Regions from separate parts of the Homo sapiens genome. Here all the other regions are linked to region 2. The links are contacts of gene promoters, found by promoter capture Hi-C in blood cells and fetal thymus (Javierre and others, 2016). All regions are on one chromosome and are shown on one strand. Each heading gives the region's core, a stretch centred on a gene start or on the middle of the fragment in contact. The rest is flanking DNA. Distances are from core to core; before and after follow the strand shown. Region 1 has its middle 100 kb from the start of BMP7-AS1. Region 2 holds the start of SPO11 (SPO11 initiator of meiotic double strand breaks). Region 3 has its middle 76 kb from the start of BMP7-AS1.

Region 1 (2,700 bases), core at 49-2,548, 220 kb before region 2:
TTCATGATGATAATAAATGTAAAATTTTAAAAATCACACTTGGTACATAGTAAATGCCCAATCAATTATTATTTAGTCTGGTCCATGCTCCTTACAGAGAGATAGTGTGTGGAAATTCCTGGAAGCAAAACAGCATGACATCTTCAGGGATGTTCAAGCAGCAGGGAGCAGGGGATGCGGGGAGGGGCAGGCCCAGGCTGCAGGGGCAGACGGATGGCCAGACCTCCAGCAACCTCAGGCCATGCGATGAATGTTATCTCAGGGCCACCAGAGGGTTTGTGCAGGGGCATGATGGGGGCACATTTCCATTTTAGAAAGCCCATCTGGAAAATCCAGAAAGAAAGAGGCCAGAGAGGAGACTGTGGAGTAATCAGGAGAGAGACGATTGGGACCAGAACCAGGCTGGCTGCGCTGGCTTGGAGGTGGATGGCTACAGCTTGGGCATATCTGAGATGCAAGGGTCCAGGAGCCATTGCTTCACTGTGAGGGGTGAGGGAAAGGAGGCAAGGATAACTCTGTGGTCCTCGAGGATGCCTGAGGAATCATTCACTGAGCCAGGGGACTAGGCCAAGGAAAACTGTCATGCCCATTTCTGGGTCCACTTTGGCCCACTGGTGCCATAAGCCTTGGTGCCAAGGCATGGCCACCATGTTCCAGGTGTGGTATGAGCCATGAGGACTCCAGCAGCACCATGTCCTCCCTTGTTCCCCACACCATACCTCCATGAATGCAGCCCACGTGAGGGGTTAAGAGGGAGCTGGGCCCATTTCCTCAGCCAGCTTGTCTCCTCTCAGTGGCCTGTAAATGGTCCTCGAAAGAGGAAGACGGCCGGCCAAGGTTTCTGCAGTGAAGGTCTCTTTCCTTCCTAAAGAGACAACCCGGGGCTTGAACGCCGGCTGCACTAGCACTGCTAAATGATCTTGGGCAAGTTCCTGATCTCCTCTGCTGTTTCCTCGTCTTTAAAATAAAGACAATCAAAGGAATTTAGACATGAAAAGTCCTTTGTATCCAGGATGCAGTAGAGGCTCTATCCACTGTAGCTGCATTGTTGCTCTGATGGCCGTTGGTACTGGTGGTGGTGGTGGTGATGGTTAGTGTGATGACTGTCGATGAAAAAAGTCAAAGTCTGAAAAATATTTAAGGAGATTTATTCTGAGCCAAGTATGAGTGACCAAGGCCTGTGACACAGCCCCAGGAGGTCCTGAGAACATGTGCCCAAGGTGGTTGGGTTACAGCTTGATTTTGTACATTTGAGGGGGACAGAAGGTACAGGCAGACATCTATCAATACATGTAAGGCGTACATTGGATTGGTCTGGAAAGGTGGGACAACTCGAAGTGGTAGGGAGGCTTCCAGGACATAGGTGCATTCAAAGATTTTCTGATTGGCAATTGGTTGAAAGATTTCAGTTACTATCTAGAGACCTGGAATCAACAGAAAGGAGTGTCTGGGTTAAGATAAGGGGTTGTGGGGACCAAGGCTCTTACTCTGCAGATGAAGCTCCAGGTAGCAGGCTTCAGAGAGAGTAGTTGGTAAATGTCCCCTATCAGATCTAAAAAGGTGCCAGACCTCTAGTCAATTCTCTCTGGAATCAGTGAAAAGACCTAGAAAGGGAAGAAGATTCTCTGCAGAATGTAGACTGTCTCCATCTCCATCTCCATCTCCATCTCCATCTCTTATGTCTTCTCCACAAGAGACAGCTTTTCAGGGCCACTTCAAAATATGTCAAAGAAATCTATTTTGGGGGAAAATACTTTGATTTCTTTCAGGGCCTGCTATCTGTCATGTGATGCTATGCTAGAGTCAGGTTGGAATTTGGTATCTTATCGCTACAAAGAGCCTGTTTTGTCAGTCTCAAGGTCTCTCTGGTTTAATGTCAATGCTGGTCAGCTGTGCCTGCACTCCAAAGGGTTTCATGAGGCATGTCTGACCCCCCTGCCCATCATGGCCTAAACTAATTTTTTGGGTTGACTTTGGAAAGTCCTCGGCCAAGAGGAGGATCCATTCAGTCAGTGGGAGGCATAGAATCTTATTTTAGTTACACATGATGGTGGTGTTTTTGGTGGTGGTGGCCCTGGCAGTACCGGCGGTGTTGGTGGTGGTGGTGGTACTTGTGATGTTACTGTTTGTGGTATTGTTGTTTGTATTGCTGCTGGTGGCCCTGGCAGTACTGGTGTTGGTGTTGGTGGTGGCCCTGGCAGTACTGGTGGTGTTGATGCTGGTGGCCCTTGCAGTACCAGCAGTGTTGGTGTCGGTAGTGGTATTTGTGATGTTAGCGTCTGTGGTATTGTTGTTTGTATTGCTAGGGGTGGCCCTGGCAGTATTGGTGGTGTTGATGGGGGTGGCCCTGGCAGTATTGGTGGTGTTGATGGTGGTGGTGGTATTTGTGATGTTAGTGTTTGTGGTAGTGTTGTTTGTATTGTGGGTGGTGGTCCTGGTGATGTTTATGTGGTTGCTGTTGATGGTGGTAGTGGTGGCACTGGTGGTGGTGGTGATGGTGGTGACGTGTGGCTCCACAGGACCCACTGAAAGGCAAGGATCAGCCTGGCTGCAAACTGAGTTAGCATCTGACTCAGTTGCTTGCTCCTGGCCTGGAGCTTCTGGGGTTTCTGATCCCTTCACTGCAATCCATGAATCTCTCCCAGCAGGTATGACAGCCTGACCCAGGGGCTCTGGGAAAGAGGGGTTTTCATCCTACAT
Region 2 (2,700 bases), core at 79-2,578:
ATTTCACATAAACAATGAAATAACATTCCTTTCTCTGCCATCGTGGTGTGTGCTTGACTCCACTTCTCGCCATGTCTTTCCCACAAGACTTTTGGGATTAAGCAATTCCTGGCCAAGAAACAAAAGCAAAATCGTCCCCAGTGGATTCGGATGAAAACTGATAATAAAATCAGGTACAACTCCAAAAGGAGACATTGAAGAAGAACCGAGCTGGGCCTATAAGGAATTGCACATGAGAGGGCACACATATTTATGCTGTCTGAAGGTCACAGTCATGTTACCACATCAAGCTGAAAATGTCACCGCTCTCTGGAGAGTTGTACATGTTTTATTGAGAATATATTTTTTCTCTCTGAATCTGTGATGAATGCGTTGGTTGGCTGGGTTCAGTAATAAATATGTGAGACCTTTCACTTAAAAAAAAAAAGAACTATTTTTTTTTTTTTGAGAAGGGATCGCCCTGTGTTGCCCAGCCTGGAGTACAGTGGCTATTCACAGGCACAATCCTAGCGCACAGCAGCCTTCAACTCCTGGAGCCTCTAAATCCATCCTCCTGCCTCAGCCTCCCTAGTAGCTGGGACTACGGGTGAGTACCACTGTGCAAGGCTACAAAATAACTTTTTAGTAAAAGTATATCCCAAACTTTATACGAGACGTAGTTACTCTAAAAAAAAAAAAGGATTTGCTGTTTATCTGAAATTCTAATTTAACTGGTTGTCCTGGATTTTCTTTGCCAAATTGGTCTGCCCTACGGAGTGCGAGGGCTGGGATTTTAACCCAGGCCTGCCTGCTCTGAGCTGACCTTTCCTGGCACCTGCAAAATTAGGATGACACGTTAGGAACTTCCTGGGGTTCTTAAGGGAATTAGAAGAGGGACCTGAGTGCAAAGGGCTTTGGAGGCATTCAACTGCTATGAAACGTTAGTAAGGACAGGGATTGCGTTCACCTCAATCACAGCTGAACCCATTGCCGAGAACTGTTATCCCACACAGCTGGATCTTCATCATTATGTGTTTTAATGAAAAATCGCTGATATTGCTGTCCCTAAATAGCCAACCCCCAAAATAATTAAATCACCTCAAGGGACTCTAGGTCCAATATCCGCAGCACGCCACACAAACATCTCTCAGCTCAGCCACGCAGGGCCGATGCCTGCGCGACCCACACTCAGGGAGGCGCCCGCCTCAGGGCCTCACAGGTGGGACCGCGCCTGAGAGCCCTGCGCTTGCGCACTCCACGCCGTGCTCTACGCATACGCCTGTCCAGCCCCGCCTCTGGGTGTGTGGCGTGGGCACGCCGGCCGCTCAGAAAGCGCGGGAAAGGCACGCAGCCACGCCCCAAGGGCGCAGCCTAGGACAGGGGCTTCTGGAGCTTCTGGCAGCCGTCTGCCCTCATGGCCTTTGCACCTATGGGGCCCGAGGCCTCGTTCTTCGACGTTTTGGACCGACACAGGGAGTCCCTGCTGGCTGCCCTGAGGAGAGGTGGCAGGGAGCCCCCAACTGGGGGAAGCCGCCTGGCCTCCAGGTACAGGAGCTGGTGCCGAGGCGCGACGCAGCCACTCTGTAGAAAAGTCGGGCGCTCTTCCTGGCCCCGGGCTGCCTCCTAGTGTTGAGGCTGAGGAGGCACCCCTTGGCGGGCCAGCCAGGAACCCCCAAAAAGATCCTTCCTGAGTACCCGTGACCTGCTTTGAACCCTTATTTTGAACTCAAAAAAGAAAGCCAGGTGGCAGCCCCCCTTCTGTGGCTTCTAGGATGTTCCCCTTCTAGAACGTTCCAGAGGCTCCCTGCAGCTGGGTTGGAAGGTTTCCTAAGATCCTTATAGGTTGGGGAGTTTGGGGTACAGTTAGCTTTGTATTTTTTAAACGTTTTTTGGGATAAAATTTTTGGTTAAACTTTAAGGGTTTTTTTTGGTTTTTATTTTTTGGTTTTTTTTTAGAAAGAAAATGAGTGTTGTATGTCTTCTCTCAGTAAGCGAATGGTTTTCTCAGAATTAACAAGGACATCAACACATTTTAAGTGGTTTATAATAAGACAACATGTTTAATTGTTTTGCAAGTGGAGAGAATGTACATATTTTAAATGATTTATTTAAAATCAATTACAGGAACCCTCCAGCTATCCATGTTAGAATTAACCACAGAAAACATGACTACGTTATTGACCATTTTCACTTAAAAATACTTTATTTTGTTTCCTCGACTTGCTTTCTTGGTTGAGCAAAGTTTTTCAGCCTTTTATTTTTAAGCCCAAACCAACCACCAAAAAATCTGAAAAACCTACAAACAAACCAATTTTTACAAAAGAATTTATTTTGAGGGAGAACTTGGGAGAGTGAGGGAAAAGGAGAGTGGCAAGTCCCTTGTTAATATCGCAGATGTAGACGAATCTGATTGTATCTTAAAGTTGGTTACAGTATTATCCTGCAACACTTTTTTTCTCCAAACTAGGAAAAATGAGTATTTGGGTCAGTTTTTACCTCCCAATATTAGAATAGATTAAATGTTTTAAAATTCATTTTCTGAAACACAAGTTTTCAGTAAAAATTCTGAAGTTCCTGTGGAAATTAAAACTCTCAACATTTTGCCCGTTTTCTAGAGTGCATTTGATTTCTCTTCCTAGACAATAAGCTCATGGTGTTTATAACAGAACAACATTTTTTGCAGCTGATGGCTTGTGAAATTAACAGTCAGCTGACAGAAAA
Region 3 (2,700 bases), core at 173-2,672, 190 kb before region 2:
CTGAGTAGCGAAAAGGGGAGTTGAAGAAGCCCTGAACAACATCTTCCCGTCGTCGCCTTCTTGGAAAAGCAAGCCCGCTTCTCCTGTGCGCCTTGCCCGCTCTGACAGTGAGGGAGGCTCCCTCGAGCACCCTTTAATTTCTCGGATTATTCAAATTTGCCATGCCCACCCAAACAAATGGGAGGTTTTCTGGAGAGAACCAGGGTCCATCAGAGGGGGGTATCAAAACCAGCTCAGCTCTCCAGTGTGGGAAATGAGTTTCTAGGCCACCAGACAGCTTCCTACCAAGCACAGAAGGCCCGTCACCTCTCCACATTCAAGTGACGGAAGTGGAGGAGGAATGAACCACAGGAAAGCAGAACAAGAAGCAACTGGTCTCCTTGCGATGTTCAGTGAGAGTTGAACATCAATTCTGTTACCAAGTATTGGTTCAAGTGAATCAAAGTCATGTCTAGCATCTATAATTTTTTTTTACATTGCAAAGGATTTTCCCCTGTAAGAGTTTATTTTGGTGTTTCACAAAGGGTGTTCTGAACATTCCTGGTAGCACGTGAGATGATTTTAGGCGAGACACCAACAAACATTTTTATTTTATTTATTTATGTTTAAACGTATTTTAAAAACATAGCAAGCATATCACACATGACAAAGACAATTGCTTAAGTCGGGGCTAAAGTAAGTATTTAAATGAGAAAAAAGGGGTACGGTTGATTTAAATAAAATGTTAAAGAATAATACAGTCATTTGGTTGGTGAAGGTAAAAATTGTGAAGGTGAGTGAAGTTTGGGGAACACTGGCTCAGCTGACGGCCACAAGTTCTGGAGAAGCCATTTGATCTGCTGCGATTGTCTCCAGGTGACAGATGACAGAGTGGAGACGGAGAGTGGCACCAAGTATGTGCCTCAAGTTACACATACACCCATGCGGGGCCAGGGCAAAAACACTGGATTTTATTTTATGTTATTTTATTTATTTTATTTTTTGAGACAGAGTCTCACTCTGCTGCCCAGGCTGGAGTGCAGGGGTGCACTCTCAGCTCACTGCAACCTCTGCCTCCCAGGTTCAAGCCATTCTCCTGCGTCAGCCTCCCAAGTAGCTGGGATTACAGGTGCATGCCCCCACACTTGGCTAATTTTTGTATTTTTAGTAGAGAAGGGGTTTCACCATATTGGCCAGGCTGGTCTCGAACTCCTGACCTCAGTGATCCACCAGCCTTGGCCTCCCAAAGTGCTGGGATTACAGGCGTGAGCCACAATGCCCAGCCTGGATTTTAAGCTTAGTTCAAAAGTCTTTTCACTCCCTCAAACTGAGACATCATCTGTCACTCTAAAATGTGATCTTTGAAAACTCACGCCAATGTAGTATTTCTCAAAACTGCTCTAGAAACAGAGAAAATATAATAAAATGTAATAACTGTCTCCTTTTTTCCATTGGTCTTTCTATAGCAGTGGTTCTCAACCAATGCATATTTTGTTTCCAGGGGACATTTGGCAATATCTGGAGACATTTTTGATGTCACAGTTGAGGGGTGGGGAGGCAGGTGGTGGATAGAGACCAGGGATCCTGCTAAAAGCTTCCTATAATACCCAGGACACTGCCCTCCCCCCCGCCAGACAAAGAAGCATTCAGCCCCAAATGTCAATAGTGCCCAAATTGAGAAAACCTGGTCTATAATCACCATGACCCATTTCATTCACAAAGTCAAATCTCAGACTGAAGGATCAGAAATCTGTCTCCTGGCTGGACACAGTGGATTACACCTATAATCCCACCACTTTGGGAAGCCAAGGCAGGAGGATCCTTGAGGCCAGGAGTTTGAGACCAGTCTGGGCAACATAGTGAGACTCTGTCTCTAAAACAACAACAACAGCGACATCAACAACAAAGGAAAGCTGTCTCCCTGTTGTGCTCGTGACATTTGCTCAGAAATTAACATTTTCGTGGCTGAAAAAAATAGGAAATGTTTTCTCAGGAATAGTTGTTGTATAATAATATCTCTAATACACACTAGCATTTATGGAGCCCTCTTGCTGTGCCAGACACCAGCCCAACAACTTTGCATGAAATTCTCACAACCACCCCATGAGGTAGGTACAGATGAGGAAACTGAGGCACAGAGAGGTTAAGCCATTTGCCTGAAGCGCCACAGCCTCTGCTTCAGAGGCAGGATTTGACCCCAGGCAGTCTGGCTTCGGAGCCTGCACTGTTATTCAAAACAGTATGTAGTCTATGTTGTAAGATTATATATTTTCTATGGGACACACTTTAACGACTTTCATTATTAAATGGGAAAAAGAATGCCACACATAAGATTTTTATTTTTCCTGAGTCGGTCTTCATGAAGAAAGAGGACTCACCACTGTTTCATATCATTCTCCTTTACTGCAGTTACTTCCCCTGCAATTTCCCTGTTTGGCCTTAATTTCCTTTGAGTCCTCGAGTGCCACGTAAACTAGGATTGGAAGAGTTCATGGAGAGGGCTTCTGTTCAGCTTCCCAGGCCCAGGACGGACTGCCGGCTTCTTGGAGCGGAGCTTTCAGGCTTGGGGTACACGGCACGCTTTAGAACTGTGCACGTCTTCACTTTTATTTCCCGGGAGCTAAGTTCAGCTGGCACTTCTTCCATGCCAGGGGCTGTGCAAATGCTTCACAGGTGTGACTTCGTTTCAGGCCCAACTCTTTTTTTTTTTTTTGAGACGAA

The links. The method cuts DNA at HindIII sites, captures the fragments that hold promoters and counts their contacts. A CHiCAGO score of 5 or more calls a contact.
Region 1: a fragment that was not itself captured here is called in contact with the fragment with the promoter of SPO11 in region 2 in 2 of 17 cell types (M1 macrophages and M0 macrophages); the score reaches 6.3 in M1 macrophages.
Region 3: a fragment that was not itself captured here is called in contact with the fragment with the promoter of SPO11 in region 2 in 1 of 17 cell types (endothelial precursors); the score reaches 5.2 in endothelial precursors.

What each region holds. Positions count from the first base shown.
Region 1 is chr20:57,111,836-57,114,535 of GRCh38, forward strand. No RefSeq gene overlaps it. Among named protein-coding and RNA genes, the nearest start is that of BMP7-AS1, 100 kb to the right of the region's middle. The HindIII fragment of the contact is 6,810 bases long and covers 1-2,700 here.
Region 2 is chr20:57,328,475-57,331,174 of GRCh38, forward strand. It overlaps SPO11 (SPO11 initiator of meiotic double strand breaks), which reads left to right and starts at 1,329. Exons shown (of 13, transcript NM_012444.3): 1 at 1,329-1,524. The coding sequence starts at 1,394. It overlaps LOC105372687 (a long non-coding RNA gene), which reads right to left and starts at 1,190. Exons shown (of 12, transcript XR_007067670.1): 1 at 947-1,190. It also overlaps the pseudogene RPL39P39. The HindIII fragment of the contact is 5,253 bases long and covers 1-2,700 here.
Region 3 is chr20:57,136,269-57,138,968 of GRCh38, forward strand. No RefSeq gene overlaps it. Among named protein-coding and RNA genes, the nearest start is that of BMP7-AS1, 76 kb to the right of the region's middle. The HindIII fragment of the contact is 298 bases long and covers 1,274-1,571 here.